Linked DNA regions of Homo sapiens: region 1 is linked to region 2. The links are contacts of gene promoters, found by promoter capture Hi-C in human tissues and cell types (Jung and others, 2019). All regions are on one chromosome and are shown on one strand. The core of a region is centred on a gene start or on the middle of the fragment in contact, and the rest is flanking DNA. Distances in the headings are between cores, read along the strand shown. Region 1 overlaps SEPTIN4 (septin 4). Region 2 holds the start of PPM1E (protein phosphatase, Mg2+/Mn2+ dependent 1E).

Region 1 (7,461 bases), core at 2,443-4,942, 220 kb before region 2:
GCACGAGAGGGCCTGGCCTGAACCATGACCCACAGGGAGTGGAAGGCAGAGAATGGACTGACTCCTCTGTAGAAGCCTGTTCTACCCCATCCTCAGCTCAGAAGAGGAACTGTTTCCCCCAACTCTCATTGTCAGCTCTAGACCCTAAAGATTCTCCTCTCCTTTGGGGGTCAGCCTCCTTCGTGGGGTGCCTGGCAGTGCTGGGCTCAGCTCTGCCTCACAATACCCACGTGCCACCCCCAGACAATGGACAAGGGCCGGCTGCAGAGGCTGACTCACTCTCTGAGGGTTAGCCAAGCCAGTGGGGACTACCCCAGACCACTGTGGAGTCCCAGCTAGAGTGAGGAAGATAAGATAGCCACAGTCTTCCTGCAAAGGGAAGAATTGAGGGAGGCAGATATGCATACTGCCAGGTGTATGCCAGAGGGAAGAGGTTGAGATAGGGAGGTTAGAGGGAAAAGTCTGCTAGGAGCTACTGCCAGGCTGTTGCCTCTGAAGTCTTCACACCTGCTTATAGCCATAGTCTCCAGTGCTCGCCTGGACAGAGGGGAGGAAAAGAGGCCCCTTAGCCCAAAACTAGAACCAGCAGATGGAGGCTGGGTGACCAGAAGAGGCTATCCTGAGGCAAGCCTAACCCAAGGCTTTTCTCACCTATGACATTTGTGAGGTCCAGTGGTGACCATACATCCCAGTCTATGCCTGCTGTCCTGGCATCATGATTAATTGTGCCCTTTCACTCTCAAAAGTGTCCCAGCTTAGACAATTAATTACATGGCAACAGAGAAGGGGTGGGACTGGGGGCAGCACGACGTGTTGTCTGGCAGCTAATAAGTCTGGGGAATTCCAGGAAATCCTGCCTCTCTGCACAAATCCACAATGACCCAGCCGTTGGTCTGGGGGTCAGGACAAGGGTGGGAGAGAGAAAGCTGTGCTTCACCTGGTTTCCCAGGAGCACTGAGTGGAGGGGCAGGGAAGGGAGAAAGGAAGGCCCTAATGAAGATCCCTAGCCCCCATGATCTTCCAGCAGAGCCTCCGGGAACCCAGCACCATCCTCATCTCTGCCAGCCCTGGCTGCTCATCCGCATGGAGGGGGCCACAGGGGCTCTAGACAAGGAGTCAGGACACCAGGGTCCTCACCTCCTGCCTGTCCATCCCCACTCCCAGCTCTGCCAGTGACCAAATCATTTTCTGACTTTGAGCCCCAATCCCAGCCAAGGCAGGGGGAAGACAGGTCACGTCCACCCATCTCCCAGAGCAGCACCTTACCCCAGCTTCAGTCCTGTCCTCAGGGACAGAATTCCCTTGCCATCCCAGTGAACGGTCCATGTCCCACGCTTCAGACTCCCTGTCAGAAAGCTCTAGGTCTAATTTTATCTCCCAGGCAAAGTTCCTCACACACAGAAACAGCCTTGTTTTGATGCTGTTGTTGTCTGGCTTCCTGGCTTGCTCCTTTCCCTTTCTCTTTGACCCCCTTCTGTCTCTGGCAGGGGCCAAAAAAGCCTGTGGAATGTCCTTCCCCACCCCTCTTCTCCTCCCCTTCCCTTGGCTCCCACCCTCCAAGGACAGCTCAGCTGCAGCAGGATCACTTGGTTCCTCTGCAGTCCCCTCCTCCTCTGATTGGCTGTCCCATGACGCCTGCCTGCTGCCTACCCTGGTGGGCACAGCACCAACCTCCCAATGTCTGTTTGCAGCCAGGCTTTTGATCCATTTGACCTCTCCTGTTAACCCCCAAGGACACTGTGGCCTGTATGAGGACTATGAGCTATCCCCAAGTGACCTGGCCCATCAGCACATGAGGACAGCCACCTAGGATACCCATTCCCAAAGGATTTCAATCCCCCAGTCTCTCTTTCACCTTAACTTTAAGCAGTGCTGGAGTAGGTGAGATGTCCTATACTCCCCCATATAGGTTTTTGTGGGAATGGTCCCACACTTCTTCCCAAGTGTTCATTTGTTTTTTTTTTTTTTTCCTGTGAGGAACGTCACTGTTTCAGAAATCTGCTCCTAAATTTCCCTGCAGGGAGCATCAGCCACAGAGAAGACTTTGCTCCAGGGACTCCCCTTACCCTAGGACACCTGACCTCTGACTTATAGCAACCTGTATCAATTAGATCACTCCATGGCTTCCATAGTGTCAACAGGGGAGCTGTTAGCACTTGGTCTCTGAGGAGCACGGGTTCAAGGCAATGGGAGGCTGGCAGCCCAGAAGCTTCAGAGCTGCCATTTAGGTGGGAGATAAATTAAGGGGCCTGGTTGGAAGTGTGCACTCAACTAGGGGTCAGGGGTCCACTGTTTCTGGTTGGGTGGAAACATCTTTTGTGAGTCTGGATAGTGTCTTAATTTGAGGACCTTAATGTTCAGTTGTGAATGGCCCTTCCTTGCCTCCCAGCGAGGCTGGGGAGAGAAAGCACTCCCAGATGATAGATACCTTAAGCTGCTTTGAACCTGAGAAGAGAAGGTGCATCCCAAGTCACAGGATGGTCATTAATGTTGGCCTGTCATTCTTTTCACATGTAAATTTAAACCCCCTGGCATAGCTGGGTTGGGGGGGTCTCCCCCACTGATTCCCAAAGCAGCTAGGACACTGACCTCCTTTGACAAAGAGACCCTCATAGAGGAGTCTGATCTGAACCAGTCAGCCTAAGAACTTGGCTGGCTTGAGGGCAGGGGCCTGAGGATGGGGACTTTGGTGATGGTGGTTGGGGTGGAGGGGGGTGTGTCTTTAATTAGAGAAGAACAGTGTGGCCTCGGACAAGCCGAAAGCACCAAGACCTCAGCTGAACTGAAGTTAGTGTGTGGCAGAAAAAGCCCCTCTAGCCCCTGCTGGGCTTGGCACTGGGGACAATCAGTGCTTCCCTAGGCTTCCATCCCTAGAACAATCAGTCCATCCATCCACCATGTGGGGAGAAGTGGGGGAAAGGAATAAGGACAGGCCTCTCTCAGGAACCCCCGTTGGGGGAAGGTCACAGGGTCACCAAGACTTCCTGGCCAAGGCTTGGGCCTCTGCCTGGACACAGCTTGAGAGACAAGAGCCCAAAAGGTTGGCCCTACCAAACCTGAAAGCTTCTGATCCCAGGGGGCCCAGGGAGCTCCCTTCTGGAGGCTGCCCACAGCCAACATCCCGCCCCACAGGCTGGTCAGTGATCCCCCCCTGCTGTAAACAGTTTGTGTCCCCCAATGCAGAGGGCAAAGGCTGTGGGGCTTCCAGACTGAGAGGAGAGGACGGTGTGTGGCCTAGAGGTCCTGACACCCTTACGTTATTTGTGGCAGGCTCTGGCAACAATGTCAGGAGAAGAGATTACATCTTCAGAGCCAAGCATCAAAAACTTCCTACCTGGGCACCTCCAGGGAGGCTGGCTGGGGTTACTGTTTCTCTTCCCACTACAGGCAGGTGGCAGGGATGGGTGCCCCCACCCCCACACACTGCAGAGGGACCTGGCTGGTGGGGAGGGAGCGGGTAGATGCAGCAGGAGGAAGCTTTCCCATGGTTCCTGTCCCAGGGGCAGAAGGATATAGCTAATCCCACCGGGCAGGATGGTGGGCTGGGCCTCCCCCTCTCTGGGGTCCCTTTGGGAAAGGGCCAGGGACTGCCCCTTGTCAGGCTGAGGGAAGGAGGGGCCAAGCGTCTTACCATCCCTCCTGGTGAGGCAGGCAGTGTTTGTGGGCCTCCTCTGCGTTTTCCAAATGAAGTTGGTACTGGCCCCTGTGCCCAGGGTAGGTGGGTGAGGAGGGGTTACTCAGGTAAAAGCTGACCCAGGCGAGGATGGGGACCCTCACCTCCGCTTATTACTGATGCGCCTTCCCCAGCCCAACAAGCGCGTCTCCACCAGCGGGCACCTCCCTCAGCACGGACCCACCCCTTCGTCCTAGAGCGCAGGCATCACCCAGGGGTTGGCGCCCACTCCGTGGCTGCTCAGAGGGAAAAACTTGGGAGCAGCGACGCACCGCCGCCCGGCAGCAGTGCCAGCCTGTGCCCGGGGCCGGCGACGGCGCCTCCCACCCTGCACAGCCGCGGCTGCGGTGCCGCGGGTCCCCTTGCAGCCGCCCGGGAGCGACCGGCCCTGCGCACCCCAGCCCTGCCCCGCGCCCGCCCGCCTGCCTGCCTGCCTTACCATGGCTGCAGCCCGGGCGGGGCCGGCTCCGCCTGGACAGCGCCCGAGCGACCCGCGGCGGAGCTGCGCGCCGACCTCGCAGCACCGCCGTCACCCTCCCGCCTCCCCGAGTGCGGACCGCTGCGGGAGGGGCCCGGCGGCGGGGGCGGAGCGAGTCGGCCCCGGGGCGGGGCCTGTACCTCAGCTGCTAGCGGTGCCGGCGCGAAGTGGGTCGGGGTGCCCAGCTGGGGGCCGGCCTCGCAGCCCGCGACCCCCGGATGCGCAGAGTATGCAGAGTCACCCAGGACAGAGCGGGGAGCCTCAGCTCCTCGTCCCCGGGCTGCACTGGACACCTGGCTCTTTTTTACTCAGCTCCAGAAGCACCGCGGGGGCTTGAGCCAGTTCCCAAAGAAAAAGGAACGGCCCACCTGACATCCCCAGAAGGAGACGCCTTTGGAAGGGAGGGGGAGTTGCTGCATGAGTTGGAGAGAAACCATTAGTTACCGCAGGGATTCAACAAGGTTTTCACAAAGTGAATCCGGCTGATGCCCAAGTTACTGATCACTACACCTCCTAAAGGGGAATGTCAGATATTCTCCACCTCCACCCGAGCTGTGAAGGGGCAGGTTAGAGGCAGGTTCCCTTCATGCAGTACCCCAGATTACAGATTAAAGAGGATTTGCTGCACAAATTATCCAGGGATCATCTGCTGGAAGGATAGAAGGGAGAGGCTGAGTGGCTTTAACAGGGCGGTGTAGCCTTGCCTGTGGCTGAGGACAGTGGGGAGGGCCTCAGGAGAGGCCAACCCAGGCGTGACCCAGGCCCAGCTGGGCCACTCTTCCTCTGACAAGCAGGTGAGATGCCGAGGGGACAGATGCCCCAGAAGCTTTAGAGGCATTAGAGGCTCAGAAAGGTCAGAGCAGCAGCTAGGGGAAGGCAGATGCTTGGTGAGTGGGGTGTTGGTGAGGGATTCCCTGAGCTAAGTAGGGTCTGAGCTGGTCAGGCTCCTGTGGAAGTTTCCAGAAGCATGTCCCTTCCTGACCCGCAAGACCCCTCTCTCAATGGCAGGCTGACTGGCTTCTGCCTGAATACACTCTGGACAAAACTGAGACCCACAGGCACGGCCCTCTCTGTTGGTAGAAGTGCCAGAGGCCTGCCTGCTGTATTTCAGTCTGACCTGTGAACCAGTAGCACTGGTTGGGACCAGTCAGAACTCAGCCAGGGGAGGGAAGAGGGCCTGGGGCAGCAGGTAAGATCAGGCTGAGAAAAACAATGGGGCTGCTACTGGAGATGTTATTGGCTGTTTGGCACTGGTGGACTGGAAGATGGCAGGGTGTTCATGAGCCAGCCGGTTGAGGAGAAACCTTCCTAGCTGGGTGGCCTTGAGCAACTTACTTCACCTGTCAGGGTCTCAATTTCCATACCTGAAAATGAGGGGATTAAACTAGATGATTTCTAAGCTTCCTTACAGCTCTGGCCTTCTAAAAGTGGATGCAGTGGGGGAAGGAGGATATGCTGTATGCTACTATAGGCCTTGGAGGAAGATAAGAGAACAAGGCAGCAGCAGGAGGTGCTGGAGAAAGGTTGGACATGCAGTGATTCAGGAGAGGGCCCAGGATCTGAGTGAAGGGGGAGGACGTGTAGGATGGGGGCAGCAGCTTGGGTTCCCTGAAAGGGAACCTCTAAAGGTACAGAGAGGCTCCCGGAAAAGACCTGGGGTAGATCAGGGGATCGGAAGCTGTACTCAGGAAAACAAAGACATAAAGAGAGAAACCAATGGCAGTTGGAAGTCTGCAGAAGCAGCAGCTGCTGCTACCATCAGCCCCAAATGTCAAGCTTGGACTATACAAAGCCCCACTGTTCAAAGCCCTGGGCCTCCAATACTCATGTATGCACTCTAAGAATACCTCTTGCGTGCTTCCAGAGTCCTGTGGCCTAGGGTAAGGAGAAAGCCTACATCAGGGAAGACAGGCCCCAGCAGAAACCCTTGTTTTCCTCTATTATAACATGCCCCTCCCCGTGGCCTCAGCTGAATTCCAAGTGTGGACACAGACACATTTCAAAAGGCAGCCCAACCAGCTCATCCTCAGCTGTGGCTGGAATCCCAGCTCTTCTCTGGCACCTGCTGCCCAGGCAGCAGGTTGGTACCAGCTTGCCTTGAGGAAAGTGAGGCCCCAAGCAAGTCCTGGGACCACGGAACTTAGCTCTAAGCCAAGAATATTGGGGTCTAATCTCTTTCTAATCACTGTACCACAGGCCTAACATGAGGCATGCTGGGTGAAATAAAAGCTGAAGACTGACTTTGAGCCATCCCACCTGCACAAGCCCTGCATGCTAACCTACTGCAGCATTCGGAGAGCTCTGAGAGAACTTGGCCTGGGCACAAGTCCCATGCCAACTTGGCTATTATCTCACTGCCTGAAAGTCCCTTGCCCTCTCTGGGCCTCTGTTTCCCCCACTGAAAGAGAAGACTGGACTTCTCCCAAGTCTAGCTCTTACATTCTGTGTGATGGAGGCAGGGTCTAATACCTGCAGGGCCAAGATACAGCAGCCCTTGCGTCAGTCACTGGGGATTTACCGAGTGCTCTTCCTCATCTCCAGCCAGCAGGTGGCCTGGCCAACTCTGCTTCAGCATGGCTTAACTCTTGGAGCGCTAGTTCTCCCTCAAAATTCAACATCCCACCAGGCATTGATGGCCTTGACTACAGTACAACTCCCCAGGCACTGCTAGGGCATGGTATCTGAGCCAAGTGTCTAGGGGAGTGTCTAGCTGGGAAACTCAGCTCAGCCACCATAGCTCTAGCCTGCTGTCTTGGGCTCCGTTGCTTAGGTCAGGCCAACATGATATGTCCTGGCCCCCTCCACTAGGTCTTTCCTGCCCACCCATAGGTGCAGGTTGTATGGCACAGGACCTAAGCAAGGAGGCTGCATGTGGGCCATCCCAGGGCCCAGGTTCAAAGCCGATAATAAAGAGCAATTACCACAGGAAATCAGGATTTCAGATCTGCATGACTAGCAATGGCCACTTCTGCCTTTCAGTAGCTAAGTTTCCCTAAAGTGGCGCAAGAACTAATTGTACATCCCTTCCCCAGTGAGATAGATGAGTCACTGACGATACAGTCAGAGAGTCCTTGGACCAAAGGCTATCACTGGGTTGTGTCTTTCAAGGAAACCTCAGCAAGTCTGTCCAACAAGGTCTGTGGTGGACAAAGGCAATAAACCAAAATACATTAAGCCCAAATCTTCCCCCAGCTGCTGCCATGTGTCCCATGATCCTGGGGGCAGGCATAAGGTGTGGGTGGCAAGGCTGGGGAACACTGTGTTTCCTGGCACCTGCTGAATGGCTGCAAAGAGGGGCAGTTCCAGAGCT
Region 2 (6,553 bases), core at 1,960-4,459:
TTAGCCAGGATGGTCTCGATCTCCTGACCTCGTGATCCGCCCGCCTCGGCCTCCCAAAGTGCTGGGATTACAGGCATGAGCCACCGCGCCTGGCCTCCTTTTTAAAAAATATATTTTAGGGACAGGGTTTTTCTTTGTTGCCCAGGCTGGTCTTGAACTCTTGAGTTCAAGCTATCACAGCCTCACAAAGTGCTGGGATTACAGGCGTGAGCCACCATGCCCAGCCCTCAATATTTTTTAATAGATAGTATGCAAGGGGATTAGAAAAGTGTAATAAGAAAGGAGTTGAAAAAGAGAGCAAACTAATGCAAAATAATTACTAAAGACTTCTTGACAATGGCAAAATCATCCTACACAGCTGCTCTGAGATCTCAGCACTTGCTGTCAGCTACCTTCTGGCAAAGCTACTTTGTCAAATGGATGCAATAGGATCCATATTGATCTTTGTGAAGGAATATCTTTATTAATATAAGCAAACACGCCTCTCACTTATAGTAATGTAGAGGTGTGGGCTTTTTCTTTTAGTAGTATTGTTTCCCCAACATATATCACTTTCCTTTGAAATGTGGGCTGAGTCATAAATTAATGTCACAAATGAGGGAGGCAACTATGTTACAAAGTAGGAAGGCGTAGATATGAATTGTTACAGTTGACAGCTAAGTACTCTTGAACTAAATGTCATTATGTCAAATTCTGAGATATTAAACAATTGTTGAAATGTAAAATTGTGGACATTTAGGTTTGCAGCCTAAAAAGTTTTGTCAATCTTTTCTAGACATTCTGAAATGGAAATGAACAGGTGGATTGAAAACAAAGACAAATGAGGAGTTTAAAGACTTTCTTGGCACCTCATAGAGAAGTTGCTCTACGCTGGTTATGTTTTAAACAAAACACATATAAATACATTCAGCATTTCTGGAAACAGATTTATTAGATCTTTCCATTTACCTTTGGGAAAAAAATATAGAGGACTCAAGGCAATTATTCACTATATTCTTTCTATCATGTATTATTTAATCTCAAGCTAGGAGAGGAACTCTGTTTTACATGATGCCATAATGTACATTAGTGAGCTCAACCCACTTAATCTTAAAATAACAGTATCAGGTCAGGGATTTAGAATACAGTATTATATGAAAACAGTTGGCAGAGAGACTCCCTCTTCTGCCATTAATAACTGGAAACGATATTTCAGACCCTAAATCCAACTGAAACCCAGAAACAATACATGGAGAGGATGGGGTGGATAATTTGTGAGAACATGTTTTTCAAAGTAGAGAAAGAATCACTATGTTTTTGCTGAATTATATGTTGCCATGGACATGGCAGTTTGCAGTAATGATGCTATCATCTATACAGCTGTATAACAACACAGCTTCTTTCTCTCCCACTCCTTCAGTAAGGCTTAAAAATAATAGGTTTGTGTGTAGTTTGGTAAGAAAATTAGAATCACTTAAAGTCATTTCAATTCCAACCCAAGAAAGAAAAAAAGAGACTTGGGGGGATGGGGAAGAAGAGCAAACAAAATGTAGAAAAAATACATATTATTGGCCGGGCACGGTGGCTCACGCCTGTAATCCCAGCACTTTGGGAGGCCAAGGTAGGCGGATCATCTGACATCAGGAGTTCGAGACCAACCTGACCAACATGGTGAAACCCTGTCTCTACTAAAAAGACAAAAAAATTAGCCGGGCGTGGTGGCACATGCCTGTAATCCCAGCTACTCAGGAGGGTGAGACAGGAGAATCGCTTGAACCCAGGAGGCAGAGGTTGCAGTGAGCCGAGATCCTGCCATTGCACTACAGCCTGGGCAACAAGAGCAAAACTCCGTCTCAAAAAAAAAAGAAAGAGAAAAGAAAAAATACATATTATATAATGAAGTATAATATGCATTATGCAGAGACTAAAGAGGGGAGTCTTGGTTGCCTGAAAACTAATGGGTAAAATCCATTGAAGTGGGTGAATCCAGTGAAAAGACCTGGATTGAGTCCTTGTTGCATCCCTTGCATGTGACCTTGAGCAAAGTCACCATGTCTTTAAGGCTGTTTTCTCACCTATAAAATGGAATAATTGGCCGGCGTGGTGGGTCACACCTGTAATCCCAGCACTTTGGGAGGCTGAGGCAGGCAGATCACCTGAGGTCAGGAGTTTGAGACCAGCCTGGCCAATATGGTGAAACCCCGTCTCTACTAAAAATACAAAAGTTAGCCGGGGGTGGTGGCAGGCCCCTGTAATCCCAGCTACTTGGGAGGCTGACGCAGGAGAATCACTTGAACCCGAGAGGCGGAGGTTGCAGTGAGCTGAGATCGCGCCACTGCACTCCAGCCTGGGTGACAAGAGCGAGATTGTCTCAAAAAAAAAAAAATCATAACGGTAACGTCCTATACCTCAAGGGACTGTGGTAAGAATTAAAAGGGTGAAATCAATGTGTAAACTATGAAGCCCAATAGAAATAAGGTGTTATACAGACAATTGCACTATTGAATCTCCGGAGACAGAGTTGAGTTAAGGAAAAATGCACTTTCGGAAAGCTTTGGCGACTGAACGACCTGAGTTCTCCAACGCCAAGGCTGGAAGTTTGGAGACCTTGAAACAAGTAAATTACCATTAATATCATAATTTTCAGTTTCCTTTTAAGAAATGAGAGTAACACCACTTTCTTCACAGAATCAAGTGAGAGAGAACCTATGCAAAGGAACTTATCACTTGGTAGGTATTTGAAGCTCCCTCTGCCTGAAAACTACTTATTCAAAGACTGCAACAAAAGGTGTTCACAGTGTGGTATCTTTCAAAACATACGCTAAGGCAAGGAACAGATAAGGAAATGGAAGTACATCCAATTGGGATCCAAGCAACCCAAGTGGGAACCAACAGCTAGACTTGGAGATGTCTTAGCTCACTCTTAACCACGTGAGGGTAGGGTATCCAACCAATAAAGACATTCAGAGTTGGAGAGCGGGCGAGTGGAGTGTCCTTTAGACTCCGCGGACTCGACGGGAGGGACCCTGCAATGCTTAATTAGAACCGGTTGCCATGGCGACAGTCTCTAGGCAGCGTGGGCTGAGCTCTCCGTAGGAATAAAGGGTGGGCCGCCGCTGGACCCTGCGCGCGCCCGCCACCAACTTTCCCTCCAGATCCGAGAGGGGCGGCGCGCTCCGCCCCCGGGCCGCGCACGTCGGTGCTCGGCGGCGCGCACGCCTGCGGGAGCCCTCTCCAGGCAACCTAGTGCTGATCGCTCGTGCCGGTGCGGCCGTTAACCGCCCTTGCCGGAGCCCTAGGCTCAAAAGCAGCCCCTTACCCTTCCTGGGCTTCCCCCAACCCCTTTCCCGGTCTGCCCTGGGGCATGAGCAGCGATGGCCGGCTGCATCCCTGAGGAGAAAACTTACCGGCGCTTCCTGGAGCTATTCCTGGGCGAGTTTCGCGGACCGTGCGGCGGCGGCGAGCCGGAGCCGGAACCCGAACCCGAACCCGAACCCGAACCCGAGTCCGAGCCCGAGCCCGAACCTGAACTGGTAGAAGCTGAGGCGGCCGAGGCTTCGGTAGAGGAACCCGGGGAGGAGGCGGCCACGGTAGCCGCGACGGAGGAGGGGGACCAGGAGCAAGACCCGGAGCCCGAGGAGGAGGCGGCGGTTGAGGGTGAGGAGGAGGAGGAGGGCGCGGCGACGGCGGCGGCAGCCCCGGGGCACTCGGCCGTGCCGCCGCCGCCGCCCCAGCTGCCGCCTTTGCCCCCGCTCCCGCGACCGCTGTCAGAGCGCATCACCCGCGAGGAGGTGGAGGGCGAAAGCCTGGACCTGTGCCTGCAGCAGCTCTACAAATAGTTAAGTAGCTGGGCTTGGCTGGTGGTGGGCCCGCGGTCCCCACCGCGCCGGCCTCGGACGCGGCTCCCTCGGCCCCTCAAACTGCTCTCTTTTCTGCTCCTCTCCCCCGCACCCGCGCCTGCCGCCGCTGAAAGCGCCCCCGCTGCTCGGACCCGGGCGGTCGGCTGAGAGCTGCCCACGCCCGCCTCGGCCCCCACGCCCGCCTCGGCCCCCACGCCTCCTACCCGGCCTTGAAGCCGCTCTCCTGAGCCCCGGCGCCCTCCCGCCGGGCCCGGGCCCCTCATCCCCTTTCACCTCGGCCCCCAGCTTCTAGCTCCACTTCACGCAACCTTTCCCTTTCCTGCCTGGAAAGGTCCTTCCTCCCAGGCTTGAGCTCCCTCTTCTTCCCAGATCCCTTCTTTCTCCGGGAGGTTTCCTCCCACCCCAGTCTGTCTTTTCCCGGGCTGAGTGCCTTGTTGTTTGGCGGCAGAGACGCGACTCCTTTCTAGACTGAGCTGCGAGGTGCCTCCTGCGTAACTGCAACAATGATGGTTATACCGGCCCCGTATCCAGATGAGAGAATGGAGTAGATTTTCCGTCAGGTGCTCAGTGTTGAAAGTGAAGGGCTTTTTAGATGTTTTCACACAGGGAAGCCTAGTCTCTTAGTTTAGACATTTGACATTCCATAATTGAGGGAAGTGGGAAGGAATTGAGAGGGAAGGGTAAGCAAAATTTTGCAAGCAAGCCTTCGGGTGAAAGAGCCATAATTCATTAAAGTGGAAAAGTCAGGCTGTTTTGATTAAATTGCAATTAGGTGCAGTATTTTCAGTCCATTAAGTAGATGGGATGGGGTGGGGAGAAAGCAGATGGCTTAGCTACACAGATGAAAGTCTAAAATAGAAAGGTCAAGGCTTTGCCTTTCATCCCAGTTCTGGTTTTTATAGGCCTGAAATAGAAACGGTTTACAATTGCGTTTCTCAATGGAATTGTTCCGAAATAATGACAGAGGAGAATACTAGTAAGTCTCTGAAAACATTGGTAAACCTGGGAAGTCTTTTGCCATTCAGCTGATAGTTGTAATGAAAGGTGTTACTCTGGCCACCCAAAAAGTTTACTACTGCAAGATTCGCTGTAATTAAGTTCAAACTCACTTTTGGGATTTTCTCAAAAGCCTAAAGAAAAGAAGGGCCTGGAAAGTAAACCTGTTTTGTCTTCATCCAAGCTAATAGACACCTGATCAGATCATTCTCCTGTTAAAGCAGCAGTTTATCAATAGGGGAAAATCATTTAACAAATCTTCCATAGAAGTGGACTGTGTTGGTATTTCATAATATAAGCTATCTAAAATTTAATTTTAAAATACTGTTCAATTACAGTATTACCGTCAATTAGCAAGGTAATGATGCTTTTTGAGAAACGTAAAATATAAAATGGCGTGTAATACCACCACCCAGAGATAAACAGTATTAACATTTTAGAGTATATCTGGTCTTTGTGAACTATCATAGACAAGGGCTTCTGAGATGTAATTTTTTACAGTATTTAAAGATAAAGCTCCCTGCTTAAAATAAAATGGAAATGTTTATTAAGGGAATTTATCTTAGCAGCAGACTGGCTCTATCTTGACAGTTAATTCTTACCTTTACAAATGCAGTTTGCAGAATTAAACCAATTCAAACTTTAGAAAGTGTCCAAATAAGGTCATTATTTTAGTACAACCCTGAACATTTGCCATGTAAGAAGGTTTTTTTTTTTTAACTTATTTAAAGATGATGGCAAGAAGATGTGTGTTTTTTCATATAGAAGCGGCCAGGAGCGGTAGCTCACTCCCGTAATCCCAGCTCTTTGGGAGGCCGGGGTGGCAGATCATGAGGTCAGGAGTTCGAGACCAGCCTGACCAACGTGGTGAAACTGCGTCTCTACTAAAAATACAAAAATTAGCTGGGCGTGGTGTCGCGCGCCTGTAATCCCAGATACTCAGGAGGCTGAGGCAGGAGAATCGCTTGAACCCGAGAGGCAGAGGTTGCAGTGAGCTGAGATTGTGCCAGTGCACTCCAGCCTGGGTGACAGAGCAAGACTCCGTCTCAAAAAAAAAAAAAAAGATTAATTTTGATATAGGTATAAACTAGAAAAAACTGAAATGATAAAATGGCCATCTAGTTGAGAACAGAAGTTTGGATTTGAAATAAAACTAGCAAAATTAAAGTTGGAAAATATTTCCGCTTAAATCAGAGATTTCATCATTTATATTGTGTTTTGTACAGAAGTTGTTAATGTATTTTTATTCAGATATAAAATGGCTGGCTTGTTCATGTAAAGTATCTTTAAGGTCCTTAACAGGTTTAAAAACAGTTTTTGCCGGGCACAGTGGCTCATGCCTGTAATCCTAGCAGTTTGGGAGGCTGAGGTGGGCGGAACACCTGTTTGAGACCATCTTGTCCAACATGGCAAAACCCCGTCTCTACTAAAAACACAATAATTAGCCGGGCATGGTGGTGCATGCCTGTAATCCCAGCTACTCAAAAGGCTGAGCCACAAGAATCGCTTGAACCCAGGAGGCGGAGGTTGCAGTGAGCCAAGATCCTACTGCTGTCCATTCCAGCCTGGGTGACAGAACAAGACCTTGTCCGCCCACCTTCCACTCCCCCACCAAAATAAAACAAAAAATAAAAACACACTTAGCTGGGCATGGTGGTGTGAACCTGTAGTCCCAGCTACTTGGGAGGCTGAAGTGGGAGGCTTTCCTGAGCACAGGA

Evidence for each region. The method cuts DNA at HindIII sites, captures the fragments that hold promoters and counts their contacts. A contact is called where the count stands out against the background at its distance.
Region 1: a fragment that was not itself captured here is called in contact with the fragment with the promoter of PPM1E in region 2 in 1 of the 25 tissues and cell types used here (aorta).

Annotation. Positions count from the first base shown.
Region 1 is chr17:58,527,849-58,535,309 of GRCh38, forward strand. All of the region lies in intron 3 of SEPTIN4 (septin 4), which reads right to left. All of the region lies in intron 2 of SEPTIN4-AS1 (SEPTIN4 antisense RNA 1), which reads left to right. Among named protein-coding and RNA genes, the nearest start is that of SEPTIN4-AS1, 12 kb to the left of the region's middle. RefSeq lists enhancers at 1,092-1,592, 3,366-3,866 and a silencer at 3,964-4,413. The HindIII fragment of the contact is 6,319 bases long and covers 534-6,852 here.
Region 2 is chr17:58,752,645-58,759,197 of GRCh38, forward strand. PPM1E (protein phosphatase, Mg2+/Mn2+ dependent 1E) reads left to right here and starts at 3,210. Exons shown (of 7, transcript NM_014906.5): 1 at 3,210-3,817. The coding sequence starts at 3,354. It overlaps LOC105371843 (a long non-coding RNA gene), which reads right to left and starts at 3,466. Exons shown (of 3, transcript XR_007065866.1): 1 at 3,387-3,466. RefSeq lists silencers at 3,029-3,218, 3,218-3,366. The HindIII fragment of the contact is 13,854 bases long and covers 489-6,553 here.